Regions from separate parts of the Homo sapiens genome. Here all the other regions are linked to region 2. The links are contacts of gene promoters, found by promoter capture Hi-C in human tissues and cell types (Jung and others, 2019). All regions are on one chromosome and are shown on one strand. The core of a region is centred on a gene start or on the middle of the fragment in contact, and the rest is flanking DNA. Distances in the headings are between cores, read along the strand shown. Region 1 overlaps RPS9 (ribosomal protein S9). Region 2 holds the start of LILRA6 (leukocyte immunoglobulin like receptor A6). Region 3 overlaps MBOAT7 (membrane bound acylglycerophosphatidylinositol O-acyltransferase MBOAT7). Region 4 has its middle 6.9 kb from the start of MIR4752.

Region 1 (3,009 bases), core at 405-2,904, 36 kb after region 2:
AAGGAAGGAGACCACAGTGAGCCCAGATGGTGCAGCAGCTGGCCCCATGGACACAAGACCACCGTCATTTCCCAAGTAGCAACGCTGAGGGAAGGAAGGGCCAACCACCTAGCTTGAGTAAGCCGCAATGGACTTCTCCACGTGGTTTACAGTAACTTAGCTGTGTTCCAGAACTGTCCCTGCCCTGACCTCAAACCCTGAAGGCCTCCAGATAAGGACCCAATCAACTACAGCCTGCAGCCTGAGGGGGTTGCACAATTTCAGGTTTCTCACTTCCTCAGAAACCAAACCCCTTCCCAACACAGATGATCAACAAGGCTGAGAAAAGGGAAGCCTGCCAACCTCTTGACCGTGAGTCCACAGAAGCACTGAACGCGGAGAGGAGGAACAGACTTCCCTCAACGCCCCTTCTCCTACGCTAACCCACTTCCCCTACATGTGAAGACAAAACTGGGAACTTGCCCAACATCAACTGCATCACAAGCTTTGAAACTAGCAAGCAAATTCTGTGAAGTGTTCCCCAACAATCACCAACAGTTCACCTTCCCCAGCAACCCGTCAGCCTCTGGTCAGCTCCCGTCCCACCTGTCTCTTGCCTGGCGGGGTCAGGGTCCCAGGGCCAGCAGGCAGGGAAGGCCCCCACCTCCACTCGGCGCCTGCCCTGCCTAGCAATGACCGGCTCCCTCCCACCCCTATATGCAAACACCGGCTTACTTGGAATTTCCTTCTGGTTTTGACACAGTTTTTCCAAAAATACCACTCGTCTCTCCCCTGATGACAGAAGTTTCTGGTAAAGATGTGTGTTCACTACTGTAGAATAGTACTGAGAGGCCAGGGACCACTAGCTGGTAGGCACTCCCAAGTGAGTGAGCCTCCCAGGGAAGGCTGCATGTTTAGAGCAGGGGAAAGAGTCAAGGATGAGAGACCCCCACACACCAATTGTAAAGCGCTGATCCTGTTTATTTGGCAGGAAAACGAGACAATCCAGCAGCCCAGGAGGGACAGGTGGACTTAATCCTCCTCCTCGTCGTCTCCAGCCCCAGCCCCACCCTGGCCCTTCTTGGCATTCTTCCTCTTCACGCGGCCCGGGCGGCCACCCCCGTAGGGAGAGCGCAGAGAGAAGTCGATGTGCTTCTGGGAATCCAGGCGGACAATGAAGGACGGGATGTTCACCACCTGCTTGCGGACCCTGGAAGCAGCGACAAGGTGAGGTGGACTGGAGGAGAAACGGACGCTAACCCCAGCTACCGCACCACTCTTTCCTCTCCACCCACCCCGTGAGGCCGCCACGGCTGCAGACACCAAGGCGCTGCAGGAAGGGTGCACCTGATCCTACGTGCGCCCTCCGGGGTTTTAGGGTATCACCTTAATCCCCAAAAATGCTTCAGATGACTTTCTCAACCCCATTTTATAGGAGAAATCCGAAAGTATCCCACCTAAGACCACAAAGCAAATGAGATGGCCATGTGAGAGCCCCCAAGTTCCGAGTCTGAAATATCGTGAACCCCACACCTGACACTGAGCTGTATTACCACGTGCAGCAGCAATGCCCACAATAACACAGCAACCCGAGGCTACGTCTCCGACGAAAGCATTGACACACAAGGCTCTGCCTACGGCTCACAGGGTTAGTGAAGGGCTGGGGCGAAGATTCTAAACGCAAACATCTTGCCCTCTTTCTGTACAGCTCCTCCCCCTCAATGGTGCCACATTACAGAAAGGGCACACTGAGTACCCAGAACGCAGTCATGGATCGGGGTCTGGAATCAACTTCACAAGCGGGCCAGGAGACAGCTGAACCCACCACCCAAGCGAGGTGAGGCTGGTTCTCTCCCTCCACTGGGGACACCAAGAGCTGTTACCTGTCCAGCTGCCCACATGCCTGGCAGAGGCCTTCACAAGGTGTACGGCTAGAGCCGCAGTGACCCTTGCGCTGGGCTATTGGGGCAAGAGGCTGCCCCAGCTCCCTGGTGAGCTGTGTGCAAGGGTGAATCTGTACCCTCTGGGTGAGTTCACACCCATCACCTCCGAGGGCTGCATAGGAGATAGGGACAGCAGGCTTAGTGAGGGCAACCATCAGAGGGGCAGGTGGAGGAAGATTCAGGTGCCCATCCGAGGTGGTACCTGATATGGCGCTGGCGGATCAGCACGCGAGCGTGGTGGATGGACTTGGCCAAGCCCAGCTTGAAGACCTGGGTCTGCAGGCGTCTCTCTAAGAAATCCTCTATCTTCAGGCCCAGGATGTAATCCAGCTTCATCTTGCCCTCATCCAGCACCCCAATGCGGACCAGCCGCCGCAGCAGGGCGTTGCCTGGGAAGAGTGGGAGGAAACACTGATTCCGCCTTCTGACCTCAGGCTTCTTGGGTTCAAATCCTGGCTCCGCCTCTTGGTAGCTCCATGCCGCGGCGGTGAGGCACAAGTAGTACAGCGCCATCACCGTGACCCATGTCACTGTCAAAACCACCCTACGGGCTGGGAGTGGTGGCTCACACCTGTAATCCCAGCACTTTGGGAGTCCGAGACGGATCACTTGAGGTCAGGAGTTTGAGAGACCAGCCCGGCCAACATGGCGAAAGCCCGTCTCCACTAAGATTACGAAAAATTAGCCAGGCCGTTGGCGCACTGCCTGTAATCCCAGCTATTCAGGAGGCTGAGGAAGGAAAACTGCTTGAACCCAGGAGGCGGAGGTTGCAGTGACCTGAGATGGGGCCACTGCACTCCAGCCTGGGCGACAGAGTGAGGCCCTGTCACAAAACAAAACAATACAAAAAACCAAACTACCCTATGGTTGTCAGGTCATCATTCATAGTAAACTGCAGATGACAGGAGGGCAAAATACACCTGCCTCCTCATCTGAGAGCATACATCCCTCGCTCCACATTCTTAGCAAGAGTAAAGGAAATCACCTCCTTACAAGGACTCAGTCTGCAAAAGACCAAATGCAGCTGCTATTAAGCTACTACCACCGTAACAAAGCACAGTGCTGAAGAGTTCATATCCTCAGCCCA
Region 2 (2,953 bases), core at 25-2,524:
GAGGAACTGTTCTTCCTCTTTCTCGGCCTGTGGCTGTGATGATCTGCATATTTCAGACGTATCACAAGAATTTCATGGTATTTGGAGCCAATGTGGGCTCTTGAATGGGGGCGTCAATCATCCTCCTCAACTGTGGAGCCCAGCACCAGGATCCTCTCCCGTCCCCACCCTCCTGTCTGAACTGGTCTGGAAATTCACCATGGCTGAGCCTCCCATGTCCTGGGCACCACTGACCCCCACAGCCACTGTGATGAGTGGGGTTCACGACAGCAGGCTCAGAGGTGACATTCATGTCCAAAGTCTCATAAACCCTAGATGATAATCAGGAATTAAATACAAATCAGCTCACCTTCCCCAGAATCAGATTATAGATTACAATGAAACATATATATATATATATATATATTTCTCTTTATCCCCTCTATTTCTCCTTTTCAGACAGGATCCTGCGCTGTCGCCCAGGCTGGAAGGCCAAGGGGTGATCATATCTCCCTGCAGCCTCCGCCTCCCGGGCCCAGGTGGTCCTCCCACCTCAGCCTCCTGAGTAGCTGGGACCACAGGCATGAGCCTCCATGCCCAGCTCACTTTTTTCTTTTCTGTAGAAACAGGGTCACAGTCTGTTTCCCAGGACTGTCTGAAGCTCCTGGCCTCAAGCCATCACCCGCCACAGCCTCCTGAAGTGCTGGGATTCCAGGCATGAGCCACCACGGTAGACGCTGCATTTCTCCTCTGTGCTCACTGCTACACGCAGCTCAGCCTGGACTACACAGCCAGGTGTCAGGTGCGTCTCTGCTGATCTGAGTCTGCCTGCAGCATGGACCTGGGTCTTCCCTGAAGCATCTCCAGGGCTGGAGAGACGACTGCCATGGTAAGGACCCCGTAACGCTGAGCTGATGGACGGGCTGAAGGAGGGAGGGAGACCCCATGGGGAGGCTCTGAGAGGGAGGATGAGCCCACAGTCACCCTCGCCTCAAAGGGGCTGACTCCAGAAGGCACTGGTTCTATTTGCTGCTGTGTCCTAGCTCTCAGTGAGATAAAGATAAATCAGGCAGACAGTGGCCCGGGGGCAGGGAGACCCCATTTCTCTCTGAAATGCCTGCAGAGAGCCTGGTGCCTGCCCCCACTTCAGCCCTGGGGAAATCAGAGCCAGGTTCCTGGGGTGGCAGTTCCTCTTCCTGTGGGCTGAGGATGAGACAACCCCATGACAAGAAGGACCCAGCCTCCGAGCGGCCACACCCTGTGTGTCTCTCTGTCCTGCCAGCACTGAGGGCTCATCCCTCTGCAGAGCCCGGGGTCACCAGGAGGAGACGCCATGACCCCCACCCTCGCAGCCCTGCTCTGCCTAGGTGAGATTTCAAGATGGGGAGGGGGAGATCTGAGTCTTGGAGGAACCCCACCCCACACACAAGCCCTGGTCCATCAGGAGACCTCAAAAGCTCAGGAGGCACCAGGGCGGGGAGGACCTGCTCAGGCTTCAGGGCAAATGCCTCACAGGGAATTCTCTTCCAGGGCTGAGTCTGGGCCCCAGGACCCACGTGCAGGCAGGTGAGTCTGTCCCCAGCTGTCCCAGGTCCCTCATCCTTACTAGGGACAAGGGCCACACATGGGCAGCTGGGGGAGGAGACAGCAGTTCTGGGTGGGGAGGAGACAGTAGTTCTGGGTGACTGATGGGGATGATGAGGAAGTCCTGGGGCTGGGAGCTGGGATCTGAGCGTGGGGATGTCTTGGGATCCAGCCTCTGATTTCCATCTAGGGCCCTTCCCCAAACCCACCCTCTGGGCTGAGCCAGGCTCTGTGATCAGCTGGGGGAGCCCCGTGACCATCTGGTGTCAGGGGAGCCTGGAGGCCCAGGAGTACCGACTGGATAAAGAGGGAAGCCCAGAGCCCTGGGACAGAAATAACCCACTGGAACCCAAGAACAAGGCCAGATTCTCCATCCCATCCATAACAGAGCACCATGCGGGGAGATACCGCTGCCACTATTACAGCTCTGCAGGCTGGTCAGAGCCCAGCGACCCCCTGGAGCTGGTGATGACAGGTGAGAGGACACTCTGGGGTCCCAGCCCCAGGCTCTGCCCTCAGGAAGGGGGTCGGCTCTCAGGGGTGTCTCCCTCTCACAGCCCAGCCCTGGGGATGATGTGGGAGGTGGGAGCCCCATTTAACATGGTGCCTCTTTCTCTCCTAGGAGCCTATAGCAAACCCACCCTCTCAGCCCTGCCCAGCCCTGTGGTGGCCTCAGGGGGGAATATGACCCTCCAATGTGGCTCACAGAAGGGATATCACCATTTTGTTCTGATGAAGGAAGGAGAACACCAGCTCCCCCGGACCCTGGACTCACAGCAGCTCCACAGTGGGGGGTTCCAGGCCCTGTTCCCTGTGGGCCCCGTGAACCCCAGCCACAGGTGGAGGTTCACATGCTATTACTATTATATGAACACCCCCCGGGTGTGGTCCCACCCCAGTGACCCCCTGGAGATTCTGCCCTCAGGTGAGGGAGCCACGGCCTTGTCTAACACACTTTCGGGGCAGCTGACAGGTTGTGGGGAGTTTGGCTGGTGACTGAATCTGGAAAGGACCCAGAGTGATGTGTTGAAGGACGGGCTGAAGGCATGAGGGAGACCCCATGGGGAGGCTCTGACATGGGAGGAGGAGCCCTCAGCCACGCTCACCTGAACGGGGAGGACTCAGGAAGGCATCGGTGTGTTTGCTGTGAGGTCCCAGCTCTCAGGGAGAGGAGGAAAGATCAGGCACAGTGGCCAGGGCTAGGGAGACCCCACTCCTCTGAAATGACTCCAAGACAGCCCCGGGTGAGAAGGAGGCCCTGGGGTCAGAGACTCAGAGCATGAGAGACAGTGAGACCTGCAGGGCCAGGACGGGAGAAGGAAGGGGCGTGGGAGGAACCAGCCCTCTCAGTCCTGGCTCCTCTTTCCCTCCAGGCGTGTCTAGGAAGCCC
Region 3 (3,018 bases), core at 94-2,593, 58 kb after region 2:
TGGGAGGCTGACGCGGGTAGATCACCTGAGGTTAGGAGTTTGAGACCATCCTGGCCAACATGGTAAAACTCCGTCTCTACTAAAAATACAAAAATGAGCCGGGTGTGGTGGCTCACACCTGTAATCCCAGCTACTCAGGAGGCTGAGGCAGGATAATTGCTTGAACCTGGAAGGTGGAGGTTGCAGTGAGCCAAGATCCCGCCATTGCACTCCAGCCTGGGCCTTCCCGGGCAAGATTCCATCTCAAAAAAAAAAGAAAAGAAAAGAAAGAAAACTCGTTCTGGATGCTGAAGGAGAATTGAAGTGGAACAGGGCAAGATGGGATGGACTCAGATAAAGGGATCCTCCTTTGTCCGAGTCCAGGTGACAAACTGTGGTGGCTTGATACAGGCCGTTGGCTGGCTGTGGGTAGGTCTGAGTTGCAGCAGGAAACGCGCATTTAGGATGACTGAAGGAGTGGCCACCAATTGGGCAGGATGTAGAAGAGCAAGAAGGGATGGTGCCTGAACCCCAGCCCGGCAGAAGGAGCCGTTCCCAACCCTAGGCCCAGGGGAAATGGGTCAGGTTGTGGTACCTGGATGGAAAAAGGGTTGTGTAGGCCTGGTGCAGTGGCTCATACTTGTATAATCCCAGCGCTTTGGGAGGTCATAGTGGGAGGACTGCTGGAGGCCAGGAGTTTAAGACCAGCCTGGGCAATATAGTGAGACCCTGTCTCTACAAAAAATTAATTTTTTAAATGTTATTTATTTTTAAAGATGGAGTCTCGCTCTGTTGCCCAGGCTGGAGTGCAGTGGTGTGATCTCACTGCAACCTCTGCCTCTCGGGTTCGAGCGATTCTCCTGCCTCAGCCTCTCGAGTAGCTGGGACTACAGGCGCCCACCACCACGCCTTGCTAATTTTTATATTTTTAGTAGAGATGGGGTTTCACCATGTTGGCCGGGCTGGTCTCAAACCCCTGACATCAAGTGATCTGCCTGCCTAGGCCAACCAAAGTGCTAGTGTTATAGGTGTGAGCCGTCACACCTGGCCCTAAATTTTTTTTTTTTTTTTTTGAGACGGAGTTTCACTCCTGTTGCCCAGGCTGGAGTGCAATGGTACGATCTTGGCTTACCGCAACCTCCGCCTCCCAGGTTCAAGCGATTCTCCTGCCTCAGCCTCCTGAGTAGCTGGAATTACAGGCACTCACCACCATGCCCGGCTAATTTTTTGTATTTTTAGTAGAGACAGGGTTTTTCCATGTTGGTCAGGCTGATCTCGAACTCCCGACCTCAGGTGATCCGCCTGCCTCGGCCTCCCAAAGTGCTGGGATTACAGGCGTGAGCCACCGCGCCCGGCCAAAATTATTTTTTTTAAAGGGTGTGTAGAGCCACCCACCTTGAAATGATCTATCAAGGGTGACAGCCAGCCCAAGGCCATCTTACAAGGGAATAAAAGCCCTACCCTCCCTCTCCTGACTTTGTCTCCAGCCAGGGATTTCTACTGACAACCCAGCCACAAGCTGGAAGAAGGAGATCTATTGATATAGGGTGGACCTTGGGACTGGTGGGAAAGGGTGGAGAGTACAACATATTCAGCTCAGTAGTGGAGATGGAAAGAGGCAACAGACTCAAACTTAAGGGATTTCAAGGCGGGCAGATCACTTGAGGCCAGGAGTTCGAGACCAGCCTGGCCAGCTGAGGCATGAGAATTGCTTGCGCCCCCAGGAGGTGGGGGTTGCAGTGAGCCGAGATCACACCAGTATACTCCAGCCTGGTGACAGAGCAAAACTTGTCTCAAAAAAAAAAAAAAAAAAAAAGAGAGAGAGATTAAAGGATCGGATTTGGGGAGTGAGGGAGATTTTTGGCTTGAACAATTTGGTGGCCTGTTGTTTGAGGGGTGACACTAGAAGAGGGTCTACCTTGTGGGGTGGGTAACATCATGTTCCGTTTCCAGTGCGTTTGGGGTGCCTGGAGACATCCGAGTATAAATGCCAATAAGCCACTTGATTGGATAGGTCTGGGGCTGGGGTAGCGTTTGGGCGTCCTCAGCGTGTGGATAGTATCGAAACCTCCGTGATTGCGTGAGAGCAGGTAAGCACAGAACAGGGAAAGGGGAGGAGGGCCTGGGACTGAGCCCTGGGGAACACCGCCCAGCTAGAGGCGTTACACACAACCTAGATGGGCAGAGCTGCGGGCACCCAGCACCCCTTGGCTGCCGAGGGCAGCCGCGCAAGGGAGATGGGTGTGGGGAAGGGCCCAGAGTCTGACCTGGCCCCTTGCCCACCCCCTTCTGCCCAGCTGGTGAGCCTGGCCAGTGAAGTCCAGGACCTGCATCTGGCCCAGAGGAAGGAAATGGCCTCAGGCTTCAGCAAGGGGCCCACCCTGGGGCTGCTGCCCGACGTGCCCTCCCTGATGGAGACACTCAGCTACAGCTACTGCTACGTGGGAATCATGACAGGTGAGTGGGGCTGCCCTAACAACTCTGCCGCTCTGTCTCCTGTGTCCCCTTCCGCCCTGAGTGCCTGTTCTGTGTTCCCGCCCTGCCCAGGGCAACCTCCATCCTAGCATCTGCTGCTGTGAGGGTGGGCATGTGTCTGGGTCTACGTCTCACACCTCCGCTGGACCAGAGCTGCTTTGGGGTAGAAGCTGGCTGTCTCAACCTAAGCAATTCCTTGCTCTTCTCCTTGTAGCGTATTGGGAGCAAAGAGAAGAGATAAAGGAGGTAAAGATCTATGTCAACCTGATGTTTTTGCTTCCCAGACAACAAATATTCACGGCTTAGGGTCCACTTTCAGCTTAAGGAAATATTTTTCATCTGGGCGTGGGGGCTTATGCCTATAATCCTAGCACTTTCGGAGGCTGAGGCGAGAGGATTGCTTGAGGCCAAAAGTTCAAGATCAACTTGGCCAACATAGCAAGATCCCGTCCCTTTATTTTAAACCTTTATTTTTAAAAAATAAATAAATATAAAATTAAAGGGCCGGGCGCAGTGGCTCACGCCTGTAATCCCAGCACTTTGGGAGGCTGAGACAGGCAGATC
Region 4 (3,025 bases), core at 504-3,003, 46 kb before region 2:
ACACAAAAATGCATTTTAAATTACATAATTCAGTCTAGCATATGTATTTTTTAATTTACTCCTATTTTTCAGTTTATCATGAGAGGTCAAGATTTGCATTTTGGCCAGGCGCGGTGGCCCACCCCTGTAATCCCAGCACTTTGGGAGGCGGAGGCAGGCGGATCAGGTGAGGGCAGGAGTTTGAGACCAGCCTGGCCAACGTGGTGAAGCCCCATCTTTACTAAAAATACAAAAATTAGCCGGGTGTGGTGGTGCGTGCTTGTAGTGCCAGCTACTCGGGAGGCTGAGACAGGAGAATCGTTTGAACGCGGGAGGTGGAGGTTGCGGTGAGCTGAGATTGTGCCACTGCACTCCAGCCTGGGCGACAGAGTGAGACTCTGTCTCGAAAAAAAAAAAAAAAAGATTTGCATTTCATGCTTAAATGTATGCACACTAGTGACTTAATTACTTCCTCCCTGAAGACCCCAATGGCACCAGACACAAATGCTCTGTCAGTTTTAATTTTCTCTTTAATGCAGGCGCTTCTCCTTCTGACAAGCTTTCATTTCTCATTTTCTGGACATGACTGTGATAACGGGGGTGTTGATGAAATATTATGAGAAGCATCTCTCAAGGGCAGGAACAAAGGGGCTCTCCTTAGTGGAAACATCAATCTCAGGCCTTGATGGTGGGCGCCAGCATCCCTTCATGCCCCCACCCCTCCTGTCTTCACCTGCTCTGGAAATTACCCATGGCTGAGCCCCCTGCAGTCCCCAGGCTCCAATGACCCAGCTCCCCTGTGATAAATGGGGTTCATCACAGGCTCCAAATGAGGAAACCGAGGCTCAGAAATGGGAGGTTACTGCCCAAGGTCACACAGGCAGGGGGTGACACATGAATATTTAAATAAAGACAAGATTTCCCCTCAAAGCAGAGTGCTAACCCCACGTATTGTCCCAGAACCTTGAACTCAGGAGCACAGGATGGGAACAGGAGTGTTTGAAAGAAGACAGGGGCACCAAGAAGGCAGAGTCAGGTCAATGTTGTTTCCAGGGAGACGGGGGCAGATGCTGTTGCGATGAGTGAATGAGAAGTTCGTGAAGGGAACGTTTTTGCATAAAGAAAACCCACACTCCAGTTCTGGGGAAAGAGTCATGATTCCTTCCCTTGTCTCCATGTATTTCCCTTTTCTGTTCATCGCCACAATAAAGCTCAACTGGAACTGCACAGCAAGATGCGAGATGAGTCTCTGCTGATGTGAGTCTGCCCCGCAGCCTGAATTTGCATCTTCCCTGAAGCTTCCCCAGGACTGGTGAGAAGACTGGCCATGGTAGGTTCCCCACAAGGGTGTGTTTATGGGTGAGCTGAAGGAGAGAGGGAAACCCCACGAGGAGTCTCTGAGAGGAAGGAAGAACCCTCCGTTGCCTTCACCTGGAAGGGACCAACTCAGGAAGGCACCACGTCCATTTGCAGCTACGTCCCGGCCCTCAATGAGACGAGGACATGTCAGGCAGACAGTGAAAGGAGATCAGGAGAGATGCCATGCGTGTCTGAAATATCAGCAGAAAGCCTGGTGCCTGTCTCAAAGGATGGTTCAATATATGCAAGTCAATAAAGGTGACTCACGACATAAACTAAGAACAAAAAGCATGTGATAATCTCAAGCGATGCAGATAAAGCATTCGAGAAAGGCCAAGTCCTGGGAAAACATGAGCCAGCGGGGTCCGGGACAGCTCACCACCCATGGAGATGCTGGTGGGAAAATCCTGTAAGTGGGAGTAAGGAAGGAGACCACTACTACTCCTGCTGCCCTCCTCCCCCCACCTTGCCTAGTTCACAAAACAGGAAGAGAGAAAAAGCCAAAAGTTGGAAAAATACAAAAGTAAGATAAATAGCCAGACAACCTTGGCACCACCACCCGGCCGTAGGAGTTAAAAAAAGTAATAATAATAACATCAACCCCTGACCTAAACTACTGGTGTTATCTGTAAATTCCAGACACTGCATGAAAAAAGCACTGTAAAACTTTTTGTTCTGTTAGCTGATGCATATAGCCCCCCACAGTCATGTTTCCCACGCTTGCTTGATGTATCACGACCCTTTCACGTGGACCCCTTAAAGTTATAAGCCTTTAAAAAGGCCAAGAATTTCTTTTTCGGGGAGTTCGGCTCTTAAGACGCGAGTCTGCCCACGCTCCCAGCTGAATAAAAACCTCTTCCTTCTTTAATCCGGTGTCTGAGGAGTTTTGTCTGCGGCTCGTCCTGCTACAGGAGAGCCCTGCCTCTCTGTGCCATGACTGTCACTCCCATGGCCATGGTCCACTTCACTGAGATTTGACGAGGGGAAAGGGAGATTCTAGCATGAGAGGGACCCTGCCCCACAGATAGGCCCTGGTCCAGTAGGAGACCCCAGGGGCTAGGGAGGATCCCATTCTCATTTTCCTGGGAAAATGTTTTCACTTCTCCCCATTCAATTTGATGTTGGCTGTGGGTTTGTCACGCAGGGGGTGTTGGTATTTTGCGGTATGTTTCTTTCATGCCTAGCCTGTTGAGGGATTTTATCACGAAGCGATGTTGGACTTTCTTGAAAGCTTTATCTGCATCTATAGAGATGATCATATGCTTTTTGTTCTTAGTTCATGTCATGAGTCACTTTTATTGACTTGCATATATTGAACCATCCTTTCTTCCCTGGAATCAAGCCAACTTGATCATGATGAATTATGTTTTTGATACACTGTTAGATTCCGTTTGCTAGTATTTTCTTGAGGATTTTTGCATCTGTGTTCCTCAGATTTCTTGGCCTGTAGTTTTATTTTTCTGTTGGATCCTTGTCTGATTTTGCTATCAGGATGATACTGATTTTGTAAAATGAGCTGGCAAAGAATCCCACTTCCTTGATTTTTGGAATACTTTCAGTATGATTGGTACCAGCCCTCCTTCGTACATACAGCTAAGTTCAACTGCGAATCCATCTGTTCCTGGACTTTTTTGCTGGAAGATTTTTAGTACTGATCCTTTTTCATTGGTTGTTATCGGTCTGTTTA

The links. The method cuts DNA at HindIII sites, captures the fragments that hold promoters and counts their contacts. A contact is called where the count stands out against the background at its distance.
Region 1: a fragment that was not itself captured here is called in contact with the fragment with the promoter of LILRA6 in region 2 in 5 of the 25 tissues and cell types used here (mesenchymal stem cells, ovary, pancreas and 2 more).
Region 3: a fragment that was not itself captured here is called in contact with the fragment with the promoter of LILRA6 in region 2 in 1 of the 25 tissues and cell types used here (spleen).
Region 4: a fragment that was not itself captured here is called in contact with the fragment with the promoter of LILRA6 in region 2 in 4 of the 25 tissues and cell types used here (aorta, bladder, pancreas and 1 more).

What each region holds. Positions count from the first base shown.
Region 1 is chr19:54,205,578-54,208,586 of GRCh38, reverse strand. It overlaps RPS9 (ribosomal protein S9), which reads right to left. Exons shown (of 5, transcript NM_001013.4): 4 at 2,125-2,311; 5 at 940-1,189. The coding sequence ends at 1,012. Among named protein-coding and RNA genes, the nearest start is that of RPS9, 6.2 kb to the right of the region's middle. RefSeq lists silencers at 1-5, 452-635, a cis regulatory region at 1-66 and enhancers at 731-1,237, 1,238-1,745, 2,253-2,761. The HindIII fragment of the contact is 5,922 bases long and covers 1-3,009 here.
Region 2 is chr19:54,241,111-54,244,063 of GRCh38, reverse strand. It overlaps LILRA6 (leukocyte immunoglobulin like receptor A6), which reads left to right and starts at 1,274. Exons shown (of 8, transcript NM_024318.5): 1 at 1,274-1,346; 2 at 1,510-1,545; 3 at 1,754-2,038; 4 at 2,186-2,488; 5 at 2,937-2,953. The coding sequence starts at 1,313. It overlaps LOC107987463 (a long non-coding RNA gene), which reads left to right. Exons shown (of 3, transcript XR_007067341.1): 3 at 603-671. RefSeq lists an enhancer at 1-199. The HindIII fragment of the contact is 41,097 bases long and covers 1-2,953 here.
Region 3 is chr19:54,182,939-54,185,956 of GRCh38, reverse strand. MBOAT7 (membrane bound acylglycerophosphatidylinositol O-acyltransferase MBOAT7) reads left to right here. Exons shown (of 8, transcript NM_024298.5): 5 at 2,277-2,436. Among named protein-coding and RNA genes, the nearest start is that of MBOAT7, 5.1 kb to the left of the region's middle. RefSeq lists an enhancer at 1,832-2,331. The HindIII fragment of the contact is 7,969 bases long and covers 1-3,018 here.
Region 4 is chr19:54,287,526-54,290,550 of GRCh38, reverse strand. No RefSeq gene overlaps it. Among named protein-coding and RNA genes, the nearest start is that of MIR4752, 6.9 kb to the right of the region's middle. The HindIII fragment of the contact is 5,378 bases long and covers 1-3,025 here.